Linked DNA regions of Homo sapiens: all the other regions are linked to region 2. Evidence: promoter capture Hi-C in 16 types of primary human blood cells and fetal thymus (Javierre and others, 2016). All regions are on one chromosome and are shown on one strand. Each heading gives the region's core, a stretch centred on a gene start or on the middle of the fragment in contact. The rest is flanking DNA. Distances are from core to core; before and after follow the strand shown. Region 1 overlaps KIF18A (kinesin family member 18A). Region 2 holds the start of IMMP1L (inner mitochondrial membrane peptidase subunit 1). Region 3 holds the start of CCDC34 (coiled-coil domain containing 34). Region 4 overlaps METTL15 (methyltransferase 15, mitochondrial 12S rRNA N4-cytidine).

Evidence for each region. Contacts are between HindIII fragments. The CHiCAGO score rates a contact against its expected background, and 5 or more counts as called.
Region 1: a contact is called between a fragment that was not itself captured here and the fragment with the promoter of IMMP1L in region 2, in 3 of 17 cell types (non-activated CD4 T cells, total CD4 T cells and naive B cells). The highest score is 8.1, in non-activated CD4 T cells.
Region 3: a fragment that was not itself captured here is called in contact with the fragment with the promoter of IMMP1L in region 2 in 1 of 17 cell types (fetal thymus); the score reaches 5.0 in fetal thymus.
Region 4: a fragment that was not itself captured here is called in contact with the fragment with the promoter of IMMP1L in region 2 in 1 of 17 cell types (total B cells); the score reaches 6.6 in total B cells.

What each region holds. Positions count from the first base shown.
Region 1 is chr11:28,096,807-28,100,260 of GRCh38, forward strand. KIF18A (kinesin family member 18A) reads right to left here. Exons shown (of 17, transcript NM_031217.4): 2 at 817-1,187. The coding sequence starts at 1,141. Among named protein-coding and RNA genes, the nearest start is that of KIF18A, 9.6 kb to the right of the region's middle. The HindIII fragment of the contact is 3,247 bases long and covers 1-2,892 here.
Region 2 is chr11:31,507,994-31,511,058 of GRCh38, forward strand. IMMP1L (inner mitochondrial membrane peptidase subunit 1) reads right to left here and starts at 1,629. Exons shown (of 6, transcript NM_001304274.2): 1 at 1,526-1,629. It overlaps ELP4 (elongator acetyltransferase complex subunit 4), which reads left to right and starts at 1,774. Exons shown (of 10, transcript NM_019040.5): 1 at 1,774-2,014. The coding sequence starts at 1,792. RefSeq lists enhancers at 1,767-2,656, 1,789-2,078. The HindIII fragment of the contact is 1,748 bases long and covers 1,115-2,862 here.
Region 3 is chr11:27,360,184-27,363,405 of GRCh38, forward strand. CCDC34 (coiled-coil domain containing 34) reads right to left here and starts at 3,032. Exons shown (of 6, transcript NM_030771.2): 1 at 2,653-3,032. The coding sequence starts at 3,011. RefSeq lists silencers at 839-1,133, 2,979-3,048 and an enhancer at 2,426-3,222. The HindIII fragment of the contact is 3,738 bases long and covers 1-3,222 here.
Region 4 is chr11:28,115,974-28,119,235 of GRCh38, forward strand. The region is part of intron 3 of METTL15 (methyltransferase 15, mitochondrial 12S rRNA N4-cytidine); the gene reads left to right. Among named protein-coding and RNA genes, the nearest start is that of METTL15, 9.2 kb to the left of the region's middle. The HindIII fragment of the contact is 7,760 bases long and covers 1-3,262 here.

The DNA of each region.
Region 1 (3,454 bases), core at 19-2,518, 3.4 Mb before region 2:
ATAATGGTGTTTAGTGCCTGGTAGGCACTGAAAAACTGGCCATTTTGCATCTTGGGTATCTCTCTCTCTCTCTCTCTTTTTTTTTTTTTAAAAAGGAAATCAACATGGCTTTCTTGAAAGGCCAAAAAAAGCACTAAAGATGCTTCTTGGGCTAACAATGAGCTAAAGGGCATGAGATAATTAACATGGGATCTTAACACTTTTACCCCCTTTCCAATTTTTATTTTAGGTTTGGGGGTACAGTGCAGGTTTGTTACATGGGTAAATTGCATGCTGCGGGGTTTAGTGTACAGATTTTTTCATCACTCAGGTAAGGAGTGTAGTACCCCATAGGTAGTTTTTTGATCCTCAGTCTCCTCCTATCCTTCGCCAACTTAAACATTTTTATTTCAATGTGCCATGAAGAAAAACTGCTGAAAAGAAACTGTCAAATGTTCAGAAATGTCTGACTACTCTCCAGGAATAGATAATTACATAGGTAAGCTGTAGGAAAAGTTATAAATACAGGTTATGAGAAAACTGATGTTAATTGCAATAAGCATGTGGTTTAATAACATAGGCAACTGAAAGGACAGATGTCTATAGGGGCCACAGTAAGGCCCTGGAAGAGAAAGGTTTACAAATGATGTATAAGTTATATATGATAACTAAAATTTCAAAGTCTATATTTACAGTTCAAGTCTATTGAATTTCTTAAGAATTTTTAGCATACAAGCTCCTTAAATTTGATTATATTTAGAAGGGTCAAGTAGATGTCCGTCCTAATGCAAAAGTGAAATCGGATAGAGAAATTAAATCCCAAATTGAAACAAATACCTGTGCAATTATATCCATTCAAAAAACTACGAAGAATTGGCTTAGTAGTGTGTTCAAAAACTTCTGACTGAGTTGACGTTTCATCAAAAACAGCATCAAATACAAATTTAAGATCCTTATTTTGTTTCTTTATAACATTTTGATTTGTAGTTTTCTTTCCATGGAAAAAACTGACTTCTTCTTGTTTGGGATCAAAAACTAGGATATGTTTATCCACAACATGAACCACTTTATGAAATCCAGCTGCTTTTTCTTTAGTGTTTTCCGGACGTACACGAACTACTACTTTCATATGGTGGCACAGGTCTTCCTCAGTGACAGACATTGTTGATTATCTTGATTCCTATCTGTATAAATACTTGAATACTTCTCTGAAATTAAAAAAGAAAATAAAGTTTTAATATCAGTTTTTACTTTCATGCAAAACAACTGGCATGTAGTATTCATTCAAAAAAGATGTTAATAATTCTGTTTCACTCACTAGGTAAACACTGGGGGAAAAATACATACATACGTAGGCACACACAACACACACACACAAATATATGCACACATACACACATATGCACTTAAGTACCCTAAAACAAACAATTAAATGGCACATACGTACACACAACTACGATAAAAATCTCTTTACCTGAAATATTAGTAGGATATTTGGCTTAAACTCAAATACTATAGCTGAACCATATATAATCACAGATATGCTATCCTAAAACCCAGATTTGATTTTCACAAGCCCTCCAGCACTATTTCAGCTTAGGTCATGGGAATGAATAGAAAAGGATCTCCCAGAACCATATCAAGGTATGATTGGAGAGCCTTAGCTTGTGAACTATTTTTAGTAAAAGTGATCTTGGCTGCAAGCCCCTTGGCCGTGGAAAGTGATACACCCAGGCTGGTCTCTACCTGTATCTCAGAAGCCCATAGGGTTAAAAATAGTTCCAAGGATGCATTCAACTAGATAGCTCAGGTCTGAAGGTGATAGAGATGGCATAGACTCCTTGGTGTATTCAGAGACCTAGTCTCTGAATATTGATCCTACTCTCTGCTTTCTAATTGTGTGCAAGTTTAAGGAATCAATGATAGCAGGTTTAAAAATTATGGTCTGATTTTATGACTGGTTCACATGCAAAGAAGAAAAGTAAAGTAACAAAGATCAATAATTTGGAAGTCTCAACTATCCAGAAAATACTCTAGAATCTGCAGACCCAAAAACCAAAACAAAAAAACAAACAACAACAACAACAAAAAGACAAAAAAAAACCAAACCACAAAACAAAATAAAACACCCCAAAACAACAAGATCTGAGTAAGGACCAAAAGGTGAGACTTAGGACGATCCTGCAATCCCACTTCTGAGTATATATCCAAAGGAATTAAAATCAGTATGTTGAAGAGATATTTGCCCTGCCATGTTCGCTACAACATTATTCACAATAACTAAGATATATAAACAATCTAAGTGCCTATCAACAGATAAATAGATCGAAAAAATGTGGTATATGCACTCAATGAAATACTATTCAGCCTTAAAAAAGACTAAAATTCTGTCATTTATGACGACATGAATGAATCTAGGGGGCATTATGCTAAGTAAAATAAGCCAGGTACAAAAAGACAAATATCACATGATCTCACTTTTATGCAGAATCTAAAAATATGAACACAGAGAAGTAGAGTAATGGTTACCAGAGGCTGAGGAGGGTGGGGTGGGTGGTAAAAGGGGAAATGTTGGTCAAAGGGTACAAAGTTTCAGTTATACAAGAGGAATAGTTTTGGTGATCTATTGCACAGCAAGGTGACCATGGTTAATTGCTAAGAGTACATTTTAAATGTTCTCACAACAAAAAAATGGTATGTGAGGTGATGGATATGTTAATTAATTAGCCTGATATGCTCATTCCACTGTGTACACATGTATCAAAACATTACATTGTATCCTATAAACTTACACATTTTTTTTGTCATTTGTAAGTTAAAATAAAAGAGACAAAAATAATAAATTCACCCAAAACAACATTTAAGTAAGGACTTGAAGGAGGTGAGGGAGTTAGTCATACAGGTATTGTAGGAAGCTTTTCCCCATAGAGAGAAGGACCCAGGGTGCTACTTTATGTTGGCCAGAATGGAGTGAGCAAAGGGGAGTGTAGTAAGACATGAGAGGAGAAATGGAGGCCATTAAAAGAACTTTGGCTTGTACTCTGAGTAAGACAAAGAACAACTGGAAGTCGTTTTGAGCACAGGAGTGACATAATCTATCACTCTCACTGCTATGTGGATAATATAATAGACTAGTCTATTGAAGTAATGTAGACAAGAGACAACTCTGTCAGCTCAGAATAGGGTAGTGGCAGCAGAGGTGGTAAGTGGTCAGATTATGGGTGTATTCTGAGGGTAAAGGTGACAGAATTTACTGACAGGTAGATGTAGAGTGAAAGAGAGAGACAGGATTGAAGAATAACTCCAAGGTTTTTGGCTTGAGAATTAGAAGGATAAAGTAGTCACCAACTGAGATGGAAATAAGAAGCAGGGCTTTTTTCAGCAGGGCGGGAAGTGGTGGGAGGCAGGGTCAGATCAGTTCAGTTTTGGATAGCTTAAGTCTCAGAGTTTTGACAGACATCCAGGTGGAAATGTC
Region 2 (3,065 bases), core at 379-2,878:
GCATCAAAAATATTTGTAGGGGTGGGGGGACAGAGAGCATCAGGAAGAATAGCTAATGGATGCTGGGCTTAATACCGAGGTGGTGGGTTGATCTGTGCAGCAAACCACCACAGCACACGTTTACCTATGTAACAAACCTGCACATGAAGCCCAGAACCTAAAACAAAAGTTGAAGAAAAAAAAAATTCAAGACGTTTCTATCTGATATTGGACTGCTTTGTCACTTTTTCTTTTGGTCTTCCTAGTGCTTATTTACTACAGGATAAAATTAGCACATGCTATTTAATGTGTTCATTTTAAGTACTATGTTGTTTTCTATGTGTTAATTTTATCTCCTCCAGGTGAGACCATTTTTATTACCATAGGTCTAAAATGACAAGATTAAGTCCAAACAGACAGTAATCACTCAACAGCTATTTATTGAGTAACTTAAAGATTCAATATGAAAGCAACCTTGATCAAAGCTTTCCAGTTGATATATTGTGAAACAGGGTTTTTTCCTAAACATGATTCTAAAAAACAAGCAAACAAACAAAAATCCTCCCCAAATGAAAAACTCCAGTCACTATTTAGCAATACTAATTTCAATTTATCAAACAGAATCAGCCCAAAAATTTCAACAGGTCAGTGAGATTTAAAACAATTCGATGGCAAGAATTTCAATGAGGTTTGGCTCTAATTAAAAGGTATCACAGATCACTGTCAAAGTCAATAACTCAGTAGTGCGGTAATGATTTGGGAGTCCTTTTCAATTTAGACATTTGTCAATCATGATTGCCTTTAAACATCAGTTACCCACTGTCCCTGCTCAGTTTTGAAAAAAAAATTAAATACAAAAATACAACTCAAAATACATGTTTTTTCCACACATAAAATTGGTATTTTAGTAATAAACTCTCGATTCAGGGTTCATAAAATAAAGTAGGTATACTTCTAATTCTTCCTAGCAGTTTTTTGGGGGAAAGAAACCCTAAGTATTTTCTGTTATTTGCAGCTGCTTTAACAGCAAACGACAATTAAATGTGTGAACAAGGTTGTCAGAGTAACACTTGTCATTTACACCGCTTAGGAAAGACATCCAAGACTTCCAGAAACACTAATTAAAATTAACAAAAGCTTCTTATCGGAACTTGTCAGAGAGCTATAGTTTGTCAGACACAGGAAAACCAGATAGCCTCAAAGTTCAAGAGTTTTCGCTCTAAGGTTTAATTCCAAACCACCTACCACTAGGCACTAACGAACTAAGCCCAGACGCTCAGCAACCAACTCATTAAGGTAAGAGATCCCATCCTTTCCATATAACACAAAATTAAGAAAAAGACATCGTGGGGAAGGCGGAGTGAATTTTCTATCAGAAATCAGAAGATAAATGAGCAGGAAAAAAGTCTATCCTCACACACAGCGGAGAAAGGTGCTAGCAATTGCTTGATAAGCCCTAAGGGTTTATTGTTTCACCAACCTTTTCTTTAACTCAATGTGAATGAAGGCACTCAAAAGGAGAAGAACGTTACGTGATATTACCTACCTCGGGCCCCAAAGAACCCTGGAGACCCTCAACCAGGACACAGGTGGGCCTTTCTCACCTGGGCCCCGCCGAAGTCGACCGTCCTTTCGTAGGGCGCACTTTTCAGCAATACGCCTTCCGATTGGTTGGCTCGGGACTGACGTCTCAGTCCTATTGGTTACGAGAGCCGCGGTTGGGGCGAGGAGGCGGGAGTTTGGCACTGGTTCTGATAGGACGGGTGTTTGCGTTCCCAGAGTTCCTATTGGGTTAACACTGGAGGCTCTAAGATGGCGGCAGTGGCAACCTGCGGTAGTGTTGCCGCGAGTACTGGGTCTGCAGTGGCGACAGCCAGCAAGAGCAACGTCACCAGTTTCCAGAGGAGGGGTCCTAGAGCCAGCGTGACCAACGACAGCGGCCCTCGACTGGTGTCCATTGCGGGCACGCGACCGTCGGTGCGGAATGGACAGCTGCTGGTATCAACCGGGCTCCCAGCCCTAGACCAGCTCTTAGGTCGGTTCAGAGCGGAGATCTGGGCTCAGCCGAGGGGAAACTTAGGGAGGGGACCTGTCGGGGAAGCCACTTTGACCCCACATCTCTTTCTGACCCCTAAACCTTCGGAGGAGGAGAGAATAGCCTGGTCTGATTGAGATGGAGGGGAATACGGGTTGTGTGGAGACTTCTGAGCGCTGTTAACTAAACATGTTTTAGTGCCCTCGCTCTCTATTTCATTCCCTGCCCTCCAACCCCTTTTCATATTACGGAGGAATTCGTACATGCTTTTTACCCTGAAATGCTTTCTAGTCAAGGGAAGACATTAATTTATGGAGATGGTTTGGCTTTCATTCAGGATACCTCCCTTCTGCTTTCTCCAGGCAGCTCACGGTTTAGACCAGCCTGCAAAAGTTTTTATAATTGTGAGAGACAGACTTCATTAGAAGATGCTGGAAAAAAATGATTTCCCCTCTTTGACCGTCAGACTGCCTGTTCTCTGGTTCTAAATCTTAAAACATTTTGGCTTTAAGAGAGCGAATGTTAAAGGCTTATGTTGACACATAATCCTTATAAAGTATTTTGAGCCTGTCGTTGATATTTAGATAGTGTCTGCGTTAAATCTGTGTATATATTTTTTATTTTTTCTATATACATTTTGCTTCCCAGTATTGATTGCTGCTACATTCCATACGACATCTTTAAATTTAACTCACATTTTAACGAGAAAAGTCTAGTTCTTAGGCTTTCCTTTAAAATCTCTGGAATTTTTTATGAGAAGCCTGCTGAAGAATATGCTTGTTTCATAACTGTTATATTCAAAGGAATGACCAGATTAAGTTGGTAGGACAGATTTGCTGTGTTAATAAAGCTTCTAGATTAATTTCTGAATGCTGTTTCATTAAAACCCCGTCTGTGTTTACATAACTTTTTTCATAGTGTGTGATATGTGTCTGTTAAATCTTGTACACTTTCATAAAATATAACTCATTGCTTGTTCTTGTACTTCGTTTGACATTTCTTTCGGTTATTTTCCCCTCAAAGTAGGCTTTTCATAGGTTTAGTGCAGAGA
Region 3 (3,222 bases), core at 122-2,621, 4.1 Mb before region 2:
TTTATTACAGCATGGTTTTCCTAATGGATAGTGGTAGAAAAACCAGGATAAAGCTGAATAAACAGCAGGCCCAGAGCACATTGTAAAATATTCCAGGAAAACGCTTCTCATTATCTTGTCTGAAGCTAACTTTGAGCTTAATCTCAGTTCTGACCAATACCCTTGAAGGTCAATGCATCCTCTAAACATGGCACTATTTATACCAAAAATACCTTGAGGTAATATCCATTATGTGCAGCTGATGCCTGAGCCTAGCTCAAAGAAGCCTTACCCGATTCGTTTTGCCAGTCAGATCAATATGGCAGGTGAGGCATGGAGAAAAGGCATAAAATCCCACACAGCTCTAGGTTGCTCTCTGCTTCACACAGAATACTCAAAACCCAGAACAATGAAAGGGCTGACTCAGGTTGCCTGCTCTCTTCATCCTGTCACCCCCAAGCTGTCCAGGGCACCAAAGAGAGGTCAGCAGTTTGACCTCAAAAGCCAGATTGTGGACTCCAGAACTCTTATCCCAAACCTGAACACCAGAACGTGGTTTACTGCACCTTAGTAGTACCTGTGGTTGGTTATTCTGAAAACATACTGATTGCTAGTGAAGTAGGTTGTAGTAAACAGGTCACTTTTTATAACACAAAGTGCTGAAGCACAGAGATTAGCAATGTCAACCTCAGCATGTGGAGACATGGTTAGATAGGATCTGAGCATGCACAGAGGAATGGATGTCATTGTATCAAAGAATGTTAGGACCAATGGAGAGAAAGAATGAGGAAATTTTCTAAAAATCTACCTTTCCTGAAAGGAAGTGCTAAGTTTCTGAAGCATTTGACAATAATCACTGCATGTATCTGTTCTTTAGGAAGTGGGAAATGGACATGCAGTCAGCAAACGTTTATTGAGCACCTAATAAGCATCTGACACTTGCCACACACAATGCTTGACAACTTCAGCATTCTCTTTTCAAACCCACGTCCCAGCTACTCCTTTGATTCATAGGGACTGAAATGTGATAAGGAAGGCAGCCTTAGCCCTGTGGTGCTACCAGCTCATTCTGGCTTTGGATAAGTGAGACGTACATACGTTCACCTCCTCCCCTGGCAGGCTCCACTTAGTCAGGGCTTTGGCTCTTGGAAACTAATGCAAGGTTTCAGTAGCTGAGCTATAGTTCCGATGGTCATTTATTCCGCAGGTCACTAACTTGTGTCCAGATTGCTTAGTCCAGTTGATTATGCTCAGAAAGTATTTCCTAAAGCCTTCAAATTTACTTTAAATACCTTTGAGACCAACTCAGTCCTGAAGAATACCTACAAAGGCCCAGATGAAAACAATTTACTGAAACCCTAACTCTACCATTAAATTTTACTATCAGGTTGATCAGAGGAGGCCTGTTTCTTGTTGCTACAACCAGCCTGGATGAGTGGCTTGCTTGGTTACTCTTTCTGATCTCCATTCCCACCAATGTACTTACTTTTACTTCTCATTCGTAACTAATTCACTCCTGTAACCATGTATACGGGTTACTTCATATGGGTTCCATATTCCATTCACTCATGCTGGATATGAACACCCTGTACTGAAGGGGGAATCTTGCTATTTACACATAAAGCATGAGTTCTCTGGCCTGTATTTCTTAGAGCTCCTGTACTGTGCCTTACACAGCTTGACAATCATAAACTTGTAAATGATTTCCGAAGAAAACGTAATGAGTCTATCCCAGAATAGACCTGCATTACTGGGCCTGTCTCAGAAATATTCCTTCAGGGATTGGCCCTTTGCTCCTACTTCTGTATACCCAATACTAGGCATGCAGTTTAGGAAAGAGAACATGATCTGTCTATCTTCGTAGTAGACCCAGGTCTGCTAATAACTAGGTGCATGCCTTTGAGTCACTTTTTGCATTCTGAGCCATGGTTTTATTATCTGTAAAATAAGTGGATTGATTTAGGCTTCAATTCATGAGAGTAGAGACCAGTATCTTGTTTACGGTCCCCAGTACGTAGACTAATATGTGGCAAACAATGTTTGCTGAGTGAGTAACAGTAGAAATAAACAAATTAAGACAGTTTTAATAACCCCATTGGTCCTAACATTGATACAATGACATCCATTCCTCTGTGCATGCTCAGATCCTCTCTAACCACGTCTCCACATGCTGAGGTTGACATTGCTAATCTCTGTGCTTCAGCACTTTATGTTATAAAAAGTGACCTGTTTACTACAACCTACTTCACTAGCAATCAGTATGTTTTCAGAATAACCAACCACAGGTACTACTAAGGTGCAGTAAACCACGTTCTGGTGTTCAGGTTTGGGATAAGAGTTCTGCAGTGCACAATCTGGCTTTTGAGGATTCATAGAACGCCTGAAATGGTAGCAGAGTTTTGTGTGTTTGAGACTATGTACATTTTTCTGGGAAGTGAGACTGCAGCAATCATAATATCTCAGGAAAAAAGGATTAAGAGCCATAGGAAATCTATGGTCATTTGCAAGAATTTGCACAGGGCTCTTTATGTGCAAAAAAAACCACGGCACCTCAGTCTGCAAGTGCCTGCTCTGCCTTTGGGGCGGAGGGCAGGAGGATGTTAGAAGGGGGTACTTAAGAGGGTCTAAGGAATCTTGAAAAGGGCTGAATCGGCCGGGCGGCCTCGGGTTTACCTGGCGCACCCCTGTAACTCCATTCCTCTCAGGCTCGCCACTTTGGCCTCTGAATCATGGGCATCTTCATCCACGTCTTCCTCATCATCCACGTCTTCCTCATCCTCCCCGTCACCGTCGTCCTCGTCAAACTGGAAGCTCTGGTGGCCAAGGGGAGACAACAGCGACCTGGTGGAATTGCTGCAGCTCAGCGGCAGCGGCGGCGACGGCGAGCGCACCACCTCCAGCCCCTGCCCACGTGCGCCCGTCATAGGGACTGAGCAGGAGTCCGAGGAGGGCCGAGACCTGGGTCTGCAGTCAGCAGAGAAACCGGCGTAGGAAGAGGGAAAAGTAGGCCCCCAGCGCCCCGCCGCCCACATCTGGCCCGCCAAGTTCAAACTGGCGGAGCCGCGGCGGGGACGCGCTTTCCCAGCGGGCCCTGCGCGCGCCAGGCCGGCCAATCCCGGCCAGCACAGACCCCGCGTTGCCATGGCGACGCGTGGAGGCCGGGAGGACTTTGTCAGGGCCTGCAGAGCTTGGCTTCCTCCGCCCCGGCCTCCCTTAGCCAGCCCTTCCTCCTCAGTGGCAGGA
Region 4 (3,262 bases), core at 712-3,211, 3.4 Mb before region 2:
CGATTTTGGATTTACCAGTGCACCACAATCTCCTAAGCCAATTCCTTAACATAAGTCTCTCTCTTTATAGAAAGAGAGGATTAAAGGATTACATAAGATCTTTCATTATGACCTTATATCATAATCTAGATATTTAATTTAGATTAAATTAAATAAGGTCTTAGATTATTATTTAAAGTCATAATCTAAGACCTTCTTTAATCCTGCCATGAATACTGTAAGGTAGGTATGATCTCTTTAAAGCAATGTAAAAAATGTTGGTTGATATAATATTGAAAACGAAAAAGCTAGAAACTTTCTGATATGTATATTCATTCACAAGAGAAAAAAGTATTGTAGATTGTCTTCAATTTTTAAAGATAATTTAATGCTTATATTTCTTAGTGTACTGACTTCAGAAATGTGATCCCTTATTCTAGAAGCTACTGTTTTTATCTAAATCAGTTATTTTTATATCTTTCTTCTTTTTCCAACATACTGCTTAGTGGTTAAGAGCAAAGATTCTGGAACTGGACTGCCTAGGTTCTAAGCTCTTGTCTAGGAAACATGTGCATGTGTGCACACACCCAGCTTTTCTTTTTTCTGAAACTTTTTCATGTTGGATCAGGCAGTTTTCATGAACTAAATTTAAGCTATATGTATAAGGTGTACTACAATGGCTAGATGTTGCTCATACAAAAGCCATCAGTGATACGATGTGGGTTCTTCATAAAAATATTATTTACCTTCTCCTCAGGCAGTATACACAGGCAAGTTTACACACAAAATAAATCCAGCATTCTTTAAAAAATTTTTTTTTAAATTTTAATTGTTCTAGAGAGAGTCTGTCTCTGTTGTTGAGGCTGAAGTATGGTGATGTGATCATAACTCACTGTAGTCTGGAACTCCTGGGCTCAGGTGATCCTTCCTGTCTCAGCTTCCTGAGTAGCTGGTCCTATGGGTGTGAGCTGCTGCACCCAGATAAACCCAGTATTCTTAAATGAATTTACGTGTATAAAGTATTTAGCTCAATGCTGTCATGTAGTGGGACTCCAAATATACATGAAAATGTAAATTAAAATATTAAATTGGATAAAACTTCTTGTTGAATGTGAGTGACTTCATCAAAATGAAATTCTCTTCGTGCTTTAAAAAGATCCATAATGCAGGGGTAACAATTAAAATCCATACATAAGTGTGAGTTTTAAAAAATGTATATTGAAATATATGTGATATTTGTTAGTGTGTGTATATATACATACATATATACACCTATATATGTATGTGTGTGTGTGTGTGTGTGTGTGTATATATATATATATATATATATATATATATATATATATATGAAAGGATAGGGGCAGTTAGTAAAAATTGGAACCAAATTCAGTGGCTTGAACTTGACTTCTGAAACTAAAAACCGAAGCACATTGTATTAGTTTATTAAACCCTAGTAACAAAGCCAAATGCTTATGTTGCACTAAGCCATGGAGTAGAAAAACAAACAAAAACAAATTGCACTACATCTTCTAGCAAATCAGTATTGTATCCAACTATTTTCTAAAACCAAGTGGAATAAAATTAGATAATTCTACAACTTGACCTACACTGCTGTTTCATTCTGTTCAAGTACCTACAAATGTAATGTTGGTTTATTTTGGCATTTTCCTTTTTCTGATTTGAGTTGGGTTTTCCAGTAACTTTTTATAAGAAGTTTAATGTTTCCAATGTTACTTCTAAAAACTTTCTTGTGAGGTACACTTAGAGACAATGTTATTTCTTACCTTTTCTGCTGTCTGGCAGACAGCTTTATTCACTATTCCCTTAATCTTCAAGTAATAAAGAACTGGTGACAGTCCTTGGACAGGAAAGGTCTTCATTTTGTCCATAATCCATTATTTGCTTCTCTTCTTCCTGAGCCTTTTCCCCAAAATCATTTTCCTTTTCAAACTATGAGTCATACACTCACTTGCATCAGTCACTTACTTACTTACTATTACCTTTTTCTGCATCACCTTCAATGATGAATTTACAGATGAAACTTTTTTTTGTTTTTTTGTTTTTTTTTGAGACGGAGTTTCGCTCTGTCGTCCAGGCTGGAGTACAGTGGCACAATCTCAGCTTACTGCAAGCTCCACCTCGCAGGTTCACTCCATTCTCCAGATGAAACTTTTGATGTAACAGGAACTTTAAAAAATATCTGAATGTATTTGAAGTGAGGTGCAAGGCATTTTATAGTTCTTTTTTCTTTAATACTTGAAAGGTGCTCACCTAAAGAAAATAGTGATTTTGGGAATTTCTTTAGCATCATAGCTAGTTTACTACCTATGTAGTTTACTACAGATTTGTTTTTCAAATACACTTAAAATATTTACTAGTTTTAATTATGAGAAAAATATCCTCTTTCTCTTGGAAGGTATTTAAAATTTTAATTGTTAAGGAGAAATTAAAGAAATTATAATTATTTCTCCCTGCTTAGTTTGCATCATTTCATATTCTAGGTGAATAACTTTTTGTGAAAATGTATTATCCTAAGAACTTTTTTTTTTCTCCTGGAGATATTTTAGTCTGGGCTAATAGATTAACTTTTTATTCTTGATTTCTGAAAACTGGAGAAAAAAAAGTTTGGTTATTTTCTAAATAGCTAAATTCTGCTTAGTTTAAGATGGTAGCAGTTTGGAGAGTATAGGAAACCTGATACTCTTGCCCCAGTAGTAGTGCTAATTTAGCTTGGTGCCTTGGGGCTTCTTTGAGTGTTATTATAAGGGTACAAGTACCCCACTAGTACAAGTAGCTGTGCAGTTTGGTCAATTAACTTTCCATGGTTGTGCCTCAGATTCCTTATCTGTAAAATAAGGAAAGAGAACCTATCTCACTCCTGGTTACTGTAAGGATTAGATGAGTTAATATACATAAATTGTTTAGAATTGTATCTTCCAAGTAGTTGAGCCCAATAAACATTAGCTGTTACTATGGGAATAGAAAGAGTCAAAGTTGTTAGCTAGATTAAAAAAGAAATTCAGGAGAAAAATGCAAGGGGAGAGCAAAGGTGGAACCAACCTGTCTGGAACTGAAAAAGTACTGTTTCCTCTTTCTGGAACTCTCCTCATCTTCATCCTTCAGGCCTGGAGTCAGGTTTTACCTTTTTATGGGAACTTTTCATGAGCCTCCACAGAAGACAGGTATCCCAATTATATATCATGTACTTTTCTTCATAGCAACTTAATAAGTCATAATTATAATTATGATGAGATTATTTGTTCAATATACACCTCTCTTAGTA